Linked DNA regions of Homo sapiens: regions 1, 2, 3, 4 and 6 are each linked to region 5. Evidence: promoter capture Hi-C in 16 types of primary human blood cells and fetal thymus (Javierre and others, 2016). All regions are on one chromosome and are shown on one strand. Each heading gives the region's core, a stretch centred on a gene start or on the middle of the fragment in contact. The rest is flanking DNA. Distances are from core to core; before and after follow the strand shown.

Evidence for each region. The method cuts DNA at HindIII sites, captures the fragments that hold promoters and counts their contacts. A CHiCAGO score of 5 or more calls a contact.
Region 1: a fragment that was not itself captured here is called in contact with the fragment with the promoter of DENND4B in region 5 in 3 of 17 cell types (fetal thymus, naive CD4 T cells and naive CD8 T cells); the score reaches 5.4 in fetal thymus.
Region 2: a contact is called between a fragment that was not itself captured here and the fragment with the promoter of DENND4B in region 5, in 1 of 17 cell types (M2 macrophages). The highest score is 5.5, in M2 macrophages.
Region 3: a fragment that was not itself captured here is called in contact with the fragment with the promoter of DENND4B in region 5 in 1 of 17 cell types (total CD8 T cells); the score reaches 5.5 in total CD8 T cells.
Region 4: a fragment that was not itself captured here is called in contact with the fragment with the promoter of DENND4B in region 5 in 6 of 17 cell types (naive CD8 T cells, naive CD4 T cells, naive B cells and 3 more); the score reaches 6.7 in naive CD8 T cells.
Region 6: a fragment that was not itself captured here is called in contact with the fragment with the promoter of DENND4B in region 5 in 2 of 17 cell types (total B cells and M0 macrophages); the score reaches 5.7 in total B cells.

The regions. Positions count from the first base shown.
Region 1 is chr1:154,234,899-154,237,598 of GRCh38, forward strand. UBAP2L (ubiquitin associated protein 2 like) reads left to right here. Exons shown (of 27, transcript NM_014847.4): 6 at 298-393; 7 at 1,668-1,713; 8 at 2,126-2,238. Among named protein-coding and RNA genes, the nearest start is that of UBAP2L, 15 kb to the left of the region's middle. The HindIII fragment of the contact is 7,636 bases long and covers 1-2,700 here.
Region 2 is chr1:153,557,912-153,560,611 of GRCh38, forward strand. No RefSeq gene overlaps it. Among named protein-coding and RNA genes, the nearest start is that of S100A2, 6.6 kb to the right of the region's middle. The HindIII fragment of the contact is 3,344 bases long and covers 1-2,700 here.
Region 3 is chr1:154,335,832-154,338,867 of GRCh38, forward strand. ATP8B2 (ATPase phospholipid transporting 8B2) reads left to right here. Exons shown (of 28, transcript NM_001370597.1): 12 at 1,517-1,713. It also overlaps the pseudogene RNU7-57P. Among named protein-coding and RNA genes, the nearest start is that of ATP8B2, 12 kb to the left of the region's middle. The HindIII fragment of the contact is 731 bases long and covers 1,399-2,129 here.
Region 4 is chr1:154,257,918-154,260,919 of GRCh38, forward strand. UBAP2L (ubiquitin associated protein 2 like) reads left to right here. Exons shown (of 27, transcript NM_014847.4): 21 at 1,060-1,113; 22 at 2,031-2,112; 23 at 2,975-3,002. It overlaps SNORA58B (small nucleolar RNA, H/ACA box 58B), which reads left to right and starts at 1,810; the gene lies at 1,810-1,945. The HindIII fragment of the contact is 872 bases long and covers 859-1,730 here.
Region 5 is chr1:153,945,401-153,948,458 of GRCh38, forward strand. DENND4B (DENN domain containing 4B) reads right to left here and starts at 1,318. Exons shown (of 28, transcript NM_014856.3): 1 at 901-1,318. CRTC2 (CREB regulated transcription coactivator 2) reads right to left here. Exons shown (of 14, transcript NM_181715.3): 13 at 3,058; 14 at 2,275-2,929. The coding sequence ends at 2,709. RefSeq lists enhancers at 1-39, 508-1,008, 1,820-1,889 and a silencer at 530-1,429. The HindIII fragment of the contact is 4,483 bases long and covers 1-3,058 here.
Region 6 is chr1:153,583,869-153,586,568 of GRCh38, forward strand. No RefSeq gene overlaps it. Among named protein-coding and RNA genes, the nearest start is that of S100A2, 19 kb to the left of the region's middle. RefSeq lists an enhancer at 1-139. The HindIII fragment of the contact is 198 bases long and covers 1,348-1,545 here.

The DNA.
Region 1 (2,700 bases), core at 162-2,661, 290 kb after region 5:
TTGACATCTCTTGCATGTGGCCTTTTCTACCAACTGCCACCAGTCTGGCATGAGATTACCCTGTAGTCATTTATAAAGTTAAATTTGACTTGCAGCTCTCCATTAAGGCACATTACCATTCCCTGAGAAACATGTTCCCATCCTTCCAGCTCATTTTCTCTTCGTTGTTTTTTTAATTCCCAATACCATATTACATACCATTTATATATTTGTATATATCCTGTTGACTGTGCTCTGGCCATCTGTGGTTTGGTTTTTTTGTTGTTGTTGTTGTTTTAATTTTTATTTTTATTTCAGTTCGAGGTCAGGAAAATGGATTGGATGGCACCAAGAGTGGAGGGCCTTCTGGAAGAGGAACAGAAAGAGGCAGAAGGGGCCGTGGCCGAGGCAGAGGTGATCAGTTTGTTGGGGGATGGATATTGGGGGCAGGTTACTCTTTATTCATTAATGGTCTGCTTTATTTTTTTTTTTTATTGGAGGTAGTCTCACTCTCACCCAGGCCGGAGTGCAGTGGCACAGTCATAGCTCACTGCAGCCTCAGACTCCTGGGCTCAAGTGATCCTCCTGCCTCAGCCTCCCTAGTAGCTAAGACTACAGGTGGCCGCCAGTATGCCTGGCTAATTTTTTTTGAGATGGAGTCTCGCACTGTCACCCAGGCTGGAGTGCAGTGGCGCGATCTTGGCTCACTGCAACCTCTGCCTCCCGGGTTCAAGCGATTCTTCTGCCTCAGTCTCCCAAGTAGCTGGGATTACAAGCGTGCGTCACTACGCCCAGCTAATTTTTGTATTTTTAGTAGAGATGGGCTTTCACTACATTGGCCAGGCTGGCCTCGAACTCCTGACCTAAAGTGATGCGCCCGCCTCGCTAATTTTTAAATGCTTTTGTAGAGATGGAGTCTCAATATGTTGCCCAGGGTGGTCTCAAACTCCTGGCTTCAAGAGATCTTCCTGCTTGGCCTCTCCAAGTGCTGAGGTTATAGGTGTGAGAGACAGCACTTGGCTCCAGGGTCTACTTTGTTTAAAAACAAATTAACATGAAGTCTAGTTAGTTAATTCCTGAGGTGTCATGCATATACTAGAGATTGCAGAAGGGGAGAGTGAGAAAGAAGGTAGATGTCATTTCCTCTAGTCTTTATTGCTAGTATTGTATTTGCTTGAGGACATGGTAGTCTGAGAGCAAAAGAAAAATCTCTCAACAGTAATGATTGTCCTACTCTATTACTGATGTGTAACATGGGACAGAGAGAAAGAACATCTGATAGTATCAACCACTTTTTATTCCAGAGCTGCCTCAGCTGGCAGGGTAGTTTTTTGTATTTTTGAGGCAAGGTTTCACTGTCACCCAGGCTGGAGTGCAGTAGTGCGGTCTTAGCTCACTGTAGCCTCTGCCTCCTGGATTCAAGTGATCCTCCTGCCTCAGCCCCTCAAGGAGCTGGGACTATAGGTGTGTGCCACCACACTCAGCAAATTTTTGTACTTTTTATAGAGATAGGGTTTTGCTCTATTGCCTAGGCTGGTCTCGAACTTCTGGATGCAACCAATCCGCCCGCCCTCAGCCTTTCAAAGTGCTGGGATTACCACCGGGAGCCACTGTGCCTGCCTGGCAAGGAAGTTTTATATCAACTTCTAAAATACATCTCTCTTCTCTTTTTCTCATTCTTTCTTTAGGTGGCTCTGGTAGGCGAGGAGGAAGGTTTTCTGCTCAAGGAATGGGGTAAGTTTCATTGATCTAGTGTCTTAATTTTTTTTCCCTTAAAAATTACTGTAGGCAGCCTTAACCAAAATGATCAGAATGATTTCTAGACTGGTCAGAAAGATATGGGGACTTAGGGCTCATTTCTTAGGGATAAACCTTTACCACCTGGATCATTACCTATATTTTATATATCTTTATTTGAATCAATATACCTGTTCTTTTCTCAGAATATCTTAGATATATGTTGAGATTATACCATGAAATTTTGGGTAGAGTGATAAGTGAGAAAAAGTAGATGACACACAGGATTATAGAATGGGGCCATGACAGATTTGTACTAGGAAGGATGCAGTCAAGATTTTGATTCTTTGAGTTAATATTTGCCAAAGCTGCTTAGAGGTCAGAGACTCTTAAGTTTTATTTTTTCCAGAACCTTTAACCCAGCTGATTATGCAGAGCCAGCCAATACTGATGATAACTATGGCAATAGCAGCGGCAATACGTGGAACAACACTGGCCACTTTGAACCAGATGATGGGACGAGTGAGTGACCATTTATCATTCATTTCTTGTCTCTGGGAATCTAAGGAAATAGTTTTTTCTGATTATACTTACATTAAAACGTGGAAGAATAGTGTTTGGTTATGGAGATAGGGTGAGAAAGGGCTGGCAGTTGTATTACTGTGTGTACTGTTTATGTAACGTGCATATGGGCACATTACACATGTTATTTCGCTTAATGCTGCTTGATATTGTATGAAATAATCATTATTTATCATCACTTTCCAGATGACAAAACTAAGGCCGAAAGAGAGGTTATAAATTTGCTAGTATTTGAACTCAGCATTGTTTGACCCTGAAAGTCCATGCCCTTTCAACTATGCTATGTCACTGCTATTAGGTCCAAGTGTATTTTCTAGTGTTTATGTTAGGGTAGTGTTGCCTTTTGAAAAGATAGCCAGAATTAATCAAGCCACTGCTTGTAAAGATGAACAAGGCCTAGAA
Region 2 (2,700 bases), core at 102-2,601, 390 kb before region 5:
CTGAGAAAGCTACTTAGCTATCAACACAGTTACTTCTTTTGGAAAATAGAGAGTTAACTCAGAAAATGGAGTCAAGAACCTAGAGGCCAAGAGCCAAGAAGAACCACTTATAGAGAGCAGAACTGGGCCCTAGTCAAGAATCTGGTGACATATGTCTGACTCAATTTCGGAATTGCTATGGACCAATGCACCAATTTGTGCCTCCAGTACACCACCACACCCTTAAGAATAGGCGTGTTTGTGGCAGTTATCTTTTTAAAAAAAAAAAGAAAAAAAAAAAAAACAGAGTCTTACTCTGTCACCCAGGCTGGAGTGCAGTGGTATGATCTCAGCTCAGTGCAATCTCCACCTCCCAGGTTCAAGCGATGTTCCTGCCTCAGCCTCCCGAGTAGCTGGGATTACAGGCGCATGCCACCATACCAGGCTAATCTTTGTATTTTTAGCAGAGACGGGGTTTTGCCACTTTGGCCAGGCTGGTCTCAAATTCCTGAGCTCAAGTGATCTACCCACCTCAGCCTCCCAAAGTGCTGAGATTACAGGCGTGAGCCAACAAGCCTGGATGGCAGTTATGTATCTTTATCTCACCTGTGAACATCGACTATGTTCTTCACAGGACTTCAGGTCAAGAGGAACCACTTTTGAGGAGCCGTCCTGGAGGAACTGCACATGAGAAGCCTTGTTCATATCTCTGGGCCTGTCTCAGATAATAAGATCAGAGACATCAAATTGATGCCTTAAAGAGATGAGACTTTGTGGGTCTTGGGAAGGAGATTAATGTATTTTGCATATGGGAGGGATGTGAATTGCGGTTGCTAGAAGACAGACTATGGTATTTAGTCTCCAAAGATGGTCACTGTCAATTTTATGCACGCTGCTCTTTACATTAAAAGATGTCTAGCCAGGCGCGGTGGCTCACGCCTGTCATCCCAGCACTTTGGGAGGCCGAGGCAGGCAGATCACGAGGTCAGGGGTTGAAGACCAGCCTGACCAACATGGTGAAACCCTGTCTCTATTGAAAATACAAAAATTACCCGGGCGTGGTGGCGCATGCCTGTAATCCCAGCTACTCAGGCAAGAGAATCACTTGAACCCAGGAAGTGGAGGTTGCAGTAAGCCAAGATCACACCTCTGCACTCCAGCCTGGGCGACAGAGCAAGACTCCATCTCAAAAAAAAAAAAAGAGAGAGATGTCTAATTCTCCTCCTCCCCTTAATCTGAGCCAGACTTAATGATTTTTTTTTATCATTAGAATATAGCAGAAATGATGTCCTGGGATTTCTGAAATAAATCTTAAGAAATACCAGGCACAGTGTCTCATATCTGTATTCCCAGCACTTTGGGAGACCAAGGCAGGTGGGACCCTTGAGTCCAGGAATTTGAGACCAGCCTGGGCAACATGGTGAAACACTGTCTCTACAAAAAATGCAAAAATTAACCAGGTATGGTGGCGTGTACCTGTAGTCCCAGCCACTTGGGAGGCTGAGGCAGGAGAATTGCTTGACCCTGGGAGGTGGAGGCTGCAGTGAGCCATTATTGCACCACTGCACCCGGGCCTGGGTGACAGAATGAAACCCTGTCTCAAAAATAAATTAATTAATTTAATTAAAATTAAAATTAATAAATCTTAAGCCTACCAGCTTCCACGTAGGCCTCATGCAATGCTCACTTTGGGATTTGTCCTCTCAGGACCCTACTGCCATGCTCTAAGAAGCTCAAGCCACATCGAGAGGCCATGGTAAGCACTCCGGCTGGCAGTTCTAGCTGAGGTCCCAGCTCACATTCGATATCAGTTGCCACGCATGTTAAGCAAGCTACCGTAGAAGTTGAGTTTGTTCAAACATTCAGATTACTCTAGCTCCGATTTCCACCTACATGGAAGACCCCACGTGAGAACCATCAACTAAACCCAGTCTACCTGCAGAACCATAAGAGATAATAAATTTTTGCTCTCGGCCGGGCATGATGGCTCACATCTGTAATCCCAGCACTTTAGAACCCGAGGCGGGCAGATCACCTGAGGTTAGGAGTTCAAGACCAGCCTGACCAGCATGGAGAAACCCGTCTCTACTAAAAATACAAAATTAGCTGGGCGTAGTGGCACATGCCTGTAATCCCAGCTACTCAGGAGGCTGAGATAGGAGAATCACTTGAACCCGGGAGGCGGAAGTTGCAGTGAGCAGAGATTATGATGCCACTTCACTCCAGCCTGGGCAACAGAGCGAGACCCTGTCTCAAAAAAAAAAGAATGTACAATATAATATAGAATGTGTTGTATAGAATACAATACACTTGTTTTCTGAAAACAGGTGTACTGCCTGTCTTGGTCCATTTTGTATTGCTACAACAGAATACCACAGACTGGTATTCAAAACAAAACAGATATTTATTGGCTCACCATTCTGGAGGCCAGGAAGTCTAAGCTGGAGGGGGTAACACCTGGAGAAGGCCTTCTTGCTGCATCATCTCCTGGTGGAAGAGCAAAGAGAGGGAGAGAAATAAAAGGTGGGGGGACAAATTCATCCTTCTATAAGGAACCCGCTCCTGTGATAACAGCACGAATCCATTCATTACAGCAGAGCCCTCATGGCCTAATCACCTGTTAATTACTATTGCTTTGGAGATAAAGTTTCCAACACATGAACTTTGGGGAACACATTCAAACCACAGCACTGCCTATGGCCTGTATTCTTTTTTTTTTTT
Region 3 (3,036 bases), core at 514-3,013, 390 kb after region 5:
GATCAAGACCATCCTGACCAACATGGTGAAACCCCATCTCTACTAAAAATACAAAAAAATAGCTGGGCGTGGTGGCGGGCACCTGTAGTCCCAGCTACTTGGGAGGTTGAGGCAGGAAAATGGCGTGAACCCGGGAGGTGGAGCTTGCAGCAGTGAGCCGAGGTCGCGCCACTGCACTCCAGCCTGGGCGACAGAGCAAGGCTCCATCTCAAAAAAAAAAAAAAAAGGCCATCTATGTGAGATAGTGAACATTACCGTGGCTTGGCATTTTTGTTGGCTTGTACCTAGCCCAGGTGAATAGATTATTTACAGTAAGTTTTCTGGTATGTTAAAAGTAGCTCATCCCCACTCTTACCAACTTTGAGGACTCTGGAAGGTTTCAAGGTGCCAGATTGAGAGCTAATCAACTATTTCAGTTTCTTCATCATATAGATGAAATAATGGTCAGACAGAAGGCCACATGATAATTGGTGACAGACTAGAACCTGTCACCAGTTCTGAGCTTTTTCCACTAGAGCAGTGGTGTCCAATATTTTGGCATCCCTGGGCCACATTGGAAGAAGAATTGTCTTGGGCCACACATAAAATACACTAACATTAACAATAGCTGATAAGCTTAGAAAAAAAAAATTGCAAAAAAAAATCTCATAAATTTTTTTTTTTTTTTTTTGAGACGGAGTCTCACTCTGTCACTAGGCTGGAGTGTAGTGCAATGGCATTATCTCGGCTCACTGCAACCTCTGCCTCTCGGGTTCACGTGATTCTCCTGCCTCAGCCTCCCTAGTAGCTGGGATTACAGGTGCCCGCCACCACACCCGGCTAATTTTTTTGTATTTTTAGTAGAGATGAGAGATGGGGTTTCACCATGTTGGCCAGACTGGTCTCGAACTCCTGACCTCATGATCTGCCCGCCTTGGCCTCCCAAAGTGCTGGGATTATAGGTGTGAGTCACTGCACCTGGCCTTTTTTTTTTTTTTTTTTGAGACAGGTTCTTGCTCTGTTGCCCAGGCTGGGATGCAGTGGCATGATCTTGGCTCACTGCAATGTCTGCCTCCCGGGTTCAAGCAATTCTCATGCCTTGGACTCCTGAGTAGCTGAGACTACAGGCAAGTGCCACCAGGACTGGCTAATTTTTTTAATGTTTTTAGTAGAGACGGGGTTTCACCGTGTTGGCCAGGCTGGTCTCAAACTCCTGACCTCAGGTGATCCATCCGCCTCAACCTCCCAAAATGCTGGGATTACAGGCTTGAGCCACTGCGCCCAGCCCATAATAGTTTTTTTTTTTTTTATAATTATTTTTCATTTAACATTCAGCTGTTACCAAAATCTCATAGTGTTTTAAGAAAGTTTATGAATCTGTGTTGGGCCACATGTGGCCCAGAGACCATGGGTTGGACAAGCTTGCACTAGAGCATCTGAGCTTTTGAGGGCTCAAGGGATGAATACATCACAGATGCACTTGGTTTTGAGGGCTTCCTACATGTCAGCCTCGCCTGTGCTTCTCATTCCTCCCCAGATTTTTGGATTCCTGGTTTGCATGGGGGTGATCCTGGCCATTGGCAATGCCATCTGGGAGCACGAGGTGGGGATGCGTTTCCAGGTCTACCTGCCGTGGGATGAGGCAGTGGACAGTGCCTTCTTCTCTGGCTTCCTCTCCTTCTGGTCCTACATCATCATCCTCAACACCGTTGTGCCCATTTCACTCTATGTCAGGTATGTGCCTTCTCTGACCTGGGGTCTCTCCAGGGAGTCAGGCGGTCCCATAGAACTTTTCTTTTCTATGAAGATGAAGTCCTTGAGAAGTAACGAGAAGTCCTCTTCTTCCTGTACTGTAAACATTTGATGTTATCTGTTTATCTTTGTGGGCAGAGCAAACTTTTTACCACAGTTTCCTGGTACTTGGGACTGTATTAGAGAAAAAAAAATATTGATTTATTCAGCACCTATTTATTACATGCCTACTGTGTACAAAGAAGTGTGCTAGGTGCCATCACAAATAAAAGATGAATTAGGAATGGATCTCCTTCCTTCTAGGAGCTTACGTCTAGTAAAGGAAGGAAAATCTAAACACATTATAAAACAAAATAGGAACCAGTGCTGTAGAATTCGACCTAGAGTCTTCTATGTGAAGCTTGGGGATACAGAGATGTATAAGGTGGCCTCTGCCTTTAGCAGCAGCAGATGGATAGGTCGAGGAGGGGAGATCTGGACAGTGTCAGACTGAGATACCATGTGGGAGGCACAGGGTGCCCGGGGACTGGGAGAGTGTCGCTCCCTAAGCAGGTAGGCAGAGAGGGAGAGATGGCATTTGCTCTGGGCTTTGAGTGGTGACTGGGCTGGATGAAGGTGGAGCCACAATGGAGAGGAGGCTGAGAGGGCTGGAAGCAAAGGTGTGGAGATGGGAGCCTGGGAATGGCCTATGGAAATAGTTGGCCAGGGTCTTGGGCCAAGAGCAAGAGCTGGAAACATAGCTTGCTCCTGATTGTGGAGGCTTTTGAATATTTGCCTGTGGACTTTGTATTTACTAACCATTAAAAGTTATTGAAAAGACTGGGCACGGTGGCTCACACCTGTAATCCCAGCACTTTGGGAAGCCAAGGTGGGCGGATAACGAGGTCAGGAATTCGAGACCAGCCTGGCCAACATGTTGAAACCCCGTCTCTACTAAAAATACAAAAATTAGCCAGGTGTGGTGGTGGTTGCCTGTAATCCCAGCTACTTGGGAGGCTAAGGTAGGAGAATCGCTTGAAACCGGAAGGTGGAGGTAGCAGTGAGCCAAGATCACGCCACTGCACTCTAGCCTGGGCAACGAGCGAAACTGTGTCTCAAAAAACAACGAAACAAACAAACAAACAAAAAAGTTTTTGAAGAAAGTCAAAAGAATGTATTCTGTATTCTAAAAATGCATTCTAAGTGTTACAGCTCTTTTAGAATTTGTCTAGCAGGTTTTCCAGTTTTCACTGGAACCCCTCCCCCACAAAAAGAAAAAAATGCATTCTAAAAAAAAACTAAAGAATGCTTTAGGAAGTATTGACT
Region 4 (3,002 bases), core at 45-2,544, 310 kb after region 5:
GGCCAGAATGTTCATCTGGAATCCTTTTTGGTTTCTTAGATAATTATGACTATTATTTTATTTTTTGAGGCAGATCTTGCTCTTTTACCCAGGTTGGAGTACAGTGGAACGATCATAGCTAGCTCACTGCAGCCTTGAACTCCTGGGCTCAAGCAATCCTCTCACCTCAGACTCCCCAAGTAGCTAGGACTACAGGTGTGCATCCCCATGCCTGGCTAAGTTTTAAAAATTTTTTTAGAGACAGGGTCTTCCTATGTTGCCTAGGCTGGTCTCAAAATCCCAGGTTCAGACAGTCCTCCTGCCTCAGCCTCTCAAATAACTGGGGTTATATATAGGCCTGAGCCACTACTCCTGGCCCCAAGAATTATTTTCTCTGATTTGATTAAATCCCTAACTCTGAGTGTGTTTGCTGGTCTGGCCTGGTTAGAGGAAAGTTTCCTGACTCAATCTGGGACTTTGAGAATAAGTGGCTGACATTAGTAGCTTTTTGCCCTAGTGTATCTTCTGTGACCTTCAAGTATTTGGTACCTATTAAGATGAAGGATATATGGAAACGTTTTAGAAGATACCTGTTCCTGCCCTCATAGACAAAGTCTAGATAAATTTCATACCGATGACACATCCAAATAACACAGTTACACATTTTTAATTTGTGGTCACTACCTTAAAACCCTGACATTGGAGAAAAGTGAAGTATTCTTTCCAGAGGAGATTATTTTTAAGCCAGATTTTGAAGAGTATAAGAGACAGAGACTTGTAGAATAGAGAGTAAAACTGGTTGTTCGTGTATGTTTTGTGTCTACTCTATTGGTATCAAGAAGCCAGCCTACTAGAATCAGTAGTATTTAGCTCAAGGAAAGCTTCAAGACCTTTCATGAATCATTTAATCTCTGTGTACTTTACTGCTTTTTCCTTAAATAAAATTGAAGGAAATAATCCGTGTCCTGTTCTAACCCAGAATGAGGATGAATGTTCTGTTGAATTAGCTTGTCTCTTGGCTCCTTGTTTTGCTAACATCATGACCAGTTCCTGTTATTGCTATATGTCTGTATCTTTCAGCCACAAGTATATGGTTATGATGACTTGCAGATGCTTCAGACAAGATTTCCATTGGTGAGTATGTGGGATAGAGCTTTGGAAAAGAAAGTAGTCTTAAAATTAGTGTTGGGAGAATTATCTCCGTCACAGACATAGCTCTTTCCCATCCCAGCCCTCCATACACTCTGATTTAAGGCATATTAGAATATAGGGATTTGGGGGAGGGTTTCCAACAGAAGATAACTTTTTTTTTTGAGACAGAGTCTTTCTCTGTCGCTCAAGCTGGAGTGCAGTGGTGTGATCTTGGCTCATTGCAACCTCCGCCGCCTGGGTTAAAGCAATTGTCTGCCTCAGCCTTCCGAGTAGCTGGGATTAAAGGTGCCCACCACCACCCCCAGCTAATTTTTTTTGTATTTTTAGTAGAGGCGGGGTTTCACCATCTTGGCCAAGCTGGTCTTGAACTCCTGACCTTATGATCCACCCGCCTCTGCCTCCCTAAGTGCTGAGCTTATAGGCATGAGCCGCCGCACCCAGCCTTTTTTTTTTCTTTTTTTAAATCAGAGTTGTGGCATCTTAGTAAATACATTTTAACCTATTCTATAGCCCAGTAAAGTACTCTGGAGCACTCAGGGTGCTTTCTGTTTGTCCCAGACACTTTAAATTATCGAATGATCTGTTTTCTCAGTAGAATAAGCTTGGTATAAACTGATAGGGATGACACCTAGAGGGTTGAAAATATTGGTCCTCGTGGACTTTGATGTATTCTCAAGTGGGCATACCCGTAGACCTTGTCTGACTGTGCTCATGGCCAGGCAGGGGGGACAGTGTATGCAAGAGTAATGTGGAGTTTGTGCTAACTCTAGCCAGCTTAATTAGTGACTGGATAAATTGCACAACTCTCACATTCTTCTGTTTTTTCCTCCGTGGAAATAGTACTCATGCTGGGGAATGAGTGACATTGAATCTCTGCTCTTTTTTCCCCTCTTTTCTAGGATTACTACAGCATCCCATTTCCCACACCCACTACTCCGCTGACTGGGAGGGATGGTAGCCTGGCCAGCAACCCTTATTCTGGTAGGATTGGGATGGGACTAAATAAATAAAAAGGGAGATAGTGTTGGGATTGATGGCAGACACCTGATTGGTAGCAAGAAGGGATGTGATAAATCAGGATTGGTAGATTCAAAATCCTGCTAAAGTTGGGCATGTCATGGCTTTTCCTATTCATCCCACTTTGTGTTGTCTCCCTGTGATTTCTAGATGATATCTTAGCCAGGCATGGTAGCACACACTTGTAGTCTCAGCTACTTGGGAGGCCAAGGTGGGAGAATTGCTTGAGCCCAGGAGTTCAAGACCAGCCTGGGCAACATAGCAAGACCCCATCTCCAAAAAAAGTGATATCTTGACTTAGTTTCAAGCCATTTGCTAGCTTTTTCCAGGAAATACAGTGGTTGAGGTGGTCTTCTCTGCTCATCTCTGCCCCTTTATGCTACTACTCACAGTGGCAATCTCACTGCCTTGCCACTCCTTCTTTTACCTGACCTATCATTGTCCTCATTGACTTACCGTTTTCCCTGATCCATCGTTGTCCTTCAAGTCCAGCATGGGGTATTCCCCATGGAGGAGAAGAGGGGAGGGAAGAAGAGGGAAGATGAAAGAGAACACAAGTGGGCAGAGAAATTGTGCAGGTGCCTTATTCCAAGAGCCTCCTGCCATAGCATTGCACAGTTATTCAACATTAGTCCTTGACTTGCAGCAACTGTGCTAAGTGTATGCTGAGCAACAATAATTGGAGCCACTAAGAAATGTAATTCAAGGAATTGAACTTTAATAGTCTTTGAACAGGATCTCCTGGAATCATGTGAAATCAGAAGAGGTAATTCTGTATTGGTATTGGGGTGAAAGAGGCAGGTACATTTAGCTTCTCCTGTCACAGGTGACCTCACAAAGTTCGGCCGTGGGGA
Region 5 (3,058 bases), core at 68-2,567:
GAATCTCAGACTATAGGATCCTGAGCAAGGCAGAGGAGGCTCAGAATGGTTCCAGGATGTGCAGTCCTGCTAACCTCCTGCTGTTCCCCCAGAGAACAGGGAATAAGGAATCTCATAGAGCCAGGCTGGCTTTCTTCATCACCTGGCCTCTGGACACACACACACACACACACACGCACACACACACGCACACACGTACACACACCAACCCCAGCTAAATTTAGACTCCACTTCTGGGAGGTAAAGCCAGGAGTCAGCGTCAGCCTCTTGATTTAATTCTGGGGCACAGACCTGTCCCTCATCCACTGAGGGCGAATGGGAGCCCTATGCCCAAGGCAGCAGGCAGAGGCCATTAGGTGGGACCTTCTGAGGGGCAAGTGGGTGGCACCCATCCGCAGGACCTGCGCACCGGGGCCTCCCCTCACCAAGCCAGGGAAGAGTCCTGCAGAAAGCAGCCCTTTCTCCCTAGGGAAGACAACGGGCACAGGGCCCACTCCGGGTCCCCACGCCCGCGTGCCGGGTGACGGGAAGTTCGGGTTGGGGCAGAGGGCGCGCCGAGGGGGAGGAGGCTGAGGAAGGAGCAGGAGGGCAGAGAAGCAGGCGCGCCGGCGGCCGAGGACGTGACGGCAGCAGCGCCGGCCGCCGCGTGACCCAAGCGGGAGGGAGGGCGGCTCCGACTCCGGCACCCACGGGAGCAGAAGGGGGTGCAGGAGGCCGGGCACGGCGAGCTAATTGCGGGAGGTGCCCTCCCCTCCACTTTCACTTCCCCAGGAGAGAGGAACCGGAACCAGATGTGCAGTGAGGGACAGCAGCTGGGGGCCATCCCCCACCCCGCCTGCCGCCCGCGCTCCCTCCTGCCCGTCCCCGCCTGCCGCCCAGCCCGGTCCAGCCCCTACCTGCCTGTCCCGCGCTTCCCGGCCGGCCGGCCCGCTGGCGGGTGGCTCGGAGGGCGAGCTGGCGGGCCGGCGGGCGGCGGGGCTACCCGGCCCCAGACATGGCGCACCCGACTTGGGCGCCGCTCCCGCCCGGGCAGTGAGTGAAGGAAGAAGAGGCGGCCGAGGACCGCAGAGCGCGGGGCGCAGTGGAAGGAGATCCGGGCGGTCCCCGCGTCCCCGCCGCGCTGCGCCACGCGGGGACTGTGCTGCCGCGCTGCTCGCTCGGCCGGCTCGGTCCTCCCAGCTCCCGCGGCGCCGGGGACCCAGCGTTCCTCCGCGCGCCCCGCTTTCTCTACTCCCCCAACCCCCGCTCCGGGCCGCGGGCGCCGCCGCTACCCCCACCCCTCCTCCTCGGCCGGCGGCCGTGACCCTGGCAAGCGTCTGCCCAAAGCCCAGCCGCCTGCAGCCCGACCCCTGGCGGCTGGGAGGGCCCCCTGCACCCAGGTAGCTTCCCACCATCCAGCCCGTGCCTCAGGACACTGACCCCAGGCGACCCAGAGGGCCGCGGCGCGCTCCCTTCCCGCCTGGGTCCTGCAGTCAGATGTGGCAAGCATGATGTGGGCGCAGGTGAAGTCCCGAAGGTCTAGTCTACGGGGACCCAGGTGGCTCCCCCTACTTCCAGGTTTAGGGCACAGGGCATTCCCTTTGGACCAGAACCAGAAGCTCTCAGTTCTCTTTTTTGAAAATGACAAGAGCTTTGGAAAGAGGAAGAGAGGCCAGGACTGCAGGGTGTGGAATAGAGCAGTGGAGGTGGGGGTAAGGTAACTGCGGGGCTCTACTTTTCTCACTATGCGGGTTGGGGGAGTGAGGGGTGCAGAGGCCCACACGGCTGGTCCAAGGGCTGGCAACCCAATCCAGAAAGAGAAAACCTTCAGAACATGCATGGCACTGAAGGATCTGTTTAATTAAAACTAAAATGAATGAGTGGTGAAGAGTGGAGAGGGTGAAGTGAATGCATGCATAGTGAGGGAGTGAGGATGAAGGCTTGCTTCCCTGAGACCTAGGAGCACTTCAGACCTGTGGGCTCAGCCAGCAATCACCTCCTTACCCGACTCACTGCCAGACCTAGGGTTGAGGAAGAGGAATAACTTGTCTGATCAGTCAAAGCCCCCATCTGATGCTGCAGCAGGGCCCTGGACAGACAGGAGGGCACATGAAGTGATTTCCTGCTGCCGTGGAAGCCTACATCCAGCTGGGTACAAATTCCGAGGCTGTGGGGCCCTTCCACAAAGCACAGTGGTGCTAAGAAGATGCAAAAAGCCTAATAGATAAAAAGACCCATGGCCCTATAACTCCCTAGATCCCCAGCCATGCCCCAAATAACTAACCACACCAAGGGTTTGATATGATTTTTTTATTAACATATAATAATATATTTAATAAAAAATAGTATCCACTCTGGCTCTCTCCTCCACTGCAAGGGGAAGAGTGGTGAGGAGGGGCTGGCACTGCCCACCCCTAGGCATCCGGAAAAGCCCTGCTTCCAGGGCTCCCCTCTACCCCTGCTTTCCAACAGGCTCTGACCTCCAGACAGACGGTTCAAAGTTACAAGTGCTTTAGGCCCTCCCTTGAGTTCCCCCAGGCCCATCCCTTGCGCAGAATTCAGGGGCCACCTGGACAAACCCCTTGCTTTTTCTCATTCTTGGCATCCTTCATTCATGCTAGAAAGAGGATCTGGGGACAGAGAGTAGAGTCTCTACCTGCCAGGGGGAAGGGAGGAAAGGAATGGTGGTGGGGGATGGGGCCAAGAAGAGGGATGGTGATGAGGTGCCCTCATTGGAGCCGGTCACTGCGGAATGACTCCTCCACAGCAGGATCAGGCAGCAGGGCACAGGGGTCACTCAGCATGTTTAGCCCTTCCAGGCCCAGTGGCTCCATGCGCAGCTCATCTTCTAGCCCAAGCCCTAGCTCCAATCCAGCTGCTGACACCTCAAAGCCAGGCACTCCGGCCAGGGCTGCTGCAATCTCCTTAGAGAAACCTGGAGAGGAGTCCCCTGTGGGTAGAAGAGACAGGTGAGGACCCCATGTCCTGTAAACTTTTCCAAGACCCCTCAATCTCCTACTCATTAGTGAATGTGTCACTTCCTCCTTCCATTTCCCATCACCACCCACCCCCATTCACC
Region 6 (2,700 bases), core at 197-2,696, 360 kb before region 5:
GAAACACCCAAGAATGATCAATTAAAAAATAAATAAATAAATAAATTTAAAAAAAAAAAAAACAAAAGTCAGCCAAAAAAAAAAAGAAAAAAAAATCATACAAACTTAAATTTCCAGAAAATAGAAAAAGGAAATACTGCCCATATGTGGCATATATAAAATAACCTTTATGGTAGAGACTGCTAATTGTCCTATTACCTATTCTCCCCTTGTCTTTCACAGCAAAAGAATCTTTGCTTTTAAGTTCAAATAAAGGCCACACTTCCCAGCCTTCCTTGCAGCTGAGTGTAGCCATATGACTAAGTTCTGGCCAAGAGAAGTAGAAATGGGGTATGCAAGTTTTGATTCATGCTCAAAAGTCAGAGACATGCCGTTTCTTCACCCTGCCACTTAGAAAGTACATGAGCTATTTGGACCATACGAACTAGGGGTGGTTAAGCAGAACCACCAAACCAGCCCTGGACCACCAACCTCCAGATAATACAGGACAGAAAAAAAAAACTTCCCTCTCATTCACGTCACCACTATTTTTGGTATCCGTTACATACAGCCAAACCCATGTACCAAGCAGATCATCCTACATACCAACACCAGAAATGTATCGTATGAGAAAGGAAAATTGAGACCCAATCTCACTTATGATTATAGATGCAAAATCCTAAATAAACTGTTAGCAAATGGAATCAAGTATTATACTTAAGAAAAATTATGACTAAGTTGGGTTTATGTCATGATTGCAGGGATGACTTTAACATTAGAAAATACATTAATGTAAGTCTCCACATTAAGAGATTAAAAATTAAAACCATATGATGATGCCAGAATAAATTCAATACCCATTTATAATAATAACGCTTAATAATCTAGGAATAGAAAGGAACATCTTGACCAACAAGCAAAAACCTACTGCAATCTTATTTTTTTTTTTTTAGTGGGGTTTCACCACGTTGCCCTCACTGGTCTCAAACTCCTGAGCTCAAAGGATCCACCTACCTCGGCCTCCCAAAGTGCTGGAATTACAGGCATGAGCCACCACACCCAGCCTGCAATCTTATTCTTAACATTAAATTATTCTTAACAGTAAATGAATGAACAGTAAATGCTTTAAAATTGTTCCTGTTAAAGTCAAACACAAGGAAAGGATTCTTGCTATTATCACTTTATTCAACATTAATTTGAAGGTTCTGACCATTACACTAAGGAAAACATTTTTTCAAGGTCTAAGGATTGGAAAAAAACAAGGATATGATACAATTGCCTCCAGAGAAGAAACAAGCAGGGCAAAACACAAGGCCTATCAGGATAAAAAGCTGATGCAAGTAAGTCGGGGGCTGATCTGAGGCAACAAGCTTCCTCCCACTGCAAATCCACAGAGCTGGAGGTTTAAATCCAGGGAGACTGCCTTTTCCCAGAGCTGCTTTTTATTTTTTTATTTTTTTATTTTTTTTCCACATGTATGAGTGAATATTTTATTTTTTTATTTTGTATATATATAGATAGATTTTTATTATACTTTAAGTTCCAGGGTACATGTGCACAACATAAAGCTTAAAGGCAAATTCCCATCCAGGATGTTGCCCAGCGGAATGACCGCAAACAAAATGGTGACACTAGTTCTGCAGTGCCTTTGGCTGTCCACACTGAGGATTTCCCCCAATACCTCCAGATGCAGTAGCTGAGAACAACCCCCACTCCAGCCCAGGAAACACAGGCTCACAAGCCAAAATCACCAGAACCTGAGATGTACAGAAATTGTAACAAAATACCCCCCAAAAAGACCAACATGAACCATTTGAAGCATAGTTATTGAAACTGGTAGACCAAAAAGTTAAATTAAGGTAATAAAATCCTCAAAAAGATAAAGGAGAGATTAGTGATAGAAATAAAAACAAGAAGTCATAAAAAAATAACTGTCCAGGCGCAGTGGCTCACGCCTGTAATCCCCGCACTTTGGGAGGCAGAGGCGGGCAGATCACAAGGTCAAGAGATCAAGACCATTCTAGCCAACATGGTGAAACCCCGTCTCTACTAAAAATGCAAAAATTAGCCGGGTGTGGTGGTGTGAGCCTGTAATCCCAGCTACTCAGGAGGCTGAGGCAGGAGAATTGCTTGAACCCAGGAGGCAGAGGTTGCAATGCACCAAGATCGTGCCACTGCACTCCAGCCTGGGTGACAGAGTGTCAATAAAATAATAATAAAATAAAATAAAGAGCATAATCATTGGGAAAAATAAAAGATGGCTACAACTGGAGAATAAATGGATGAGCTAAATGATCAGACTGAGAAACTCTCCCAGAAGGCAGAAGTAGAGAACAAAGAGAATATTTTTAAAGGAGCTAAGTGCTATGGAGAATAGAAGTAGAGTGCTCATATCAGGATAACAGGATTCCCCAGACAGGGAATTAAAAAAAAAAAAAACAGAGAGGAGGAAATAATGAAGTAATAACATTGAAACACTTCTGAGAATTAGAGAAAAAGATCTCAGATAGAAAGGGCTCATAGAATGCTAAATAGGGTAACTGAGGAAAAAAACACATTTAGACTCATATTGAAGTGGAAGAAGATCAAATTCAATTAAAACTCTGAACATTTCCAAAAGCAATAGATTGCCTACAAAGGAATTGAGAAGTAGGTCCGTTGTGCACTGGTTTCAACCTGTCTGAGTCAAGTTAAACAGACACACACAGACACACTCAAGTT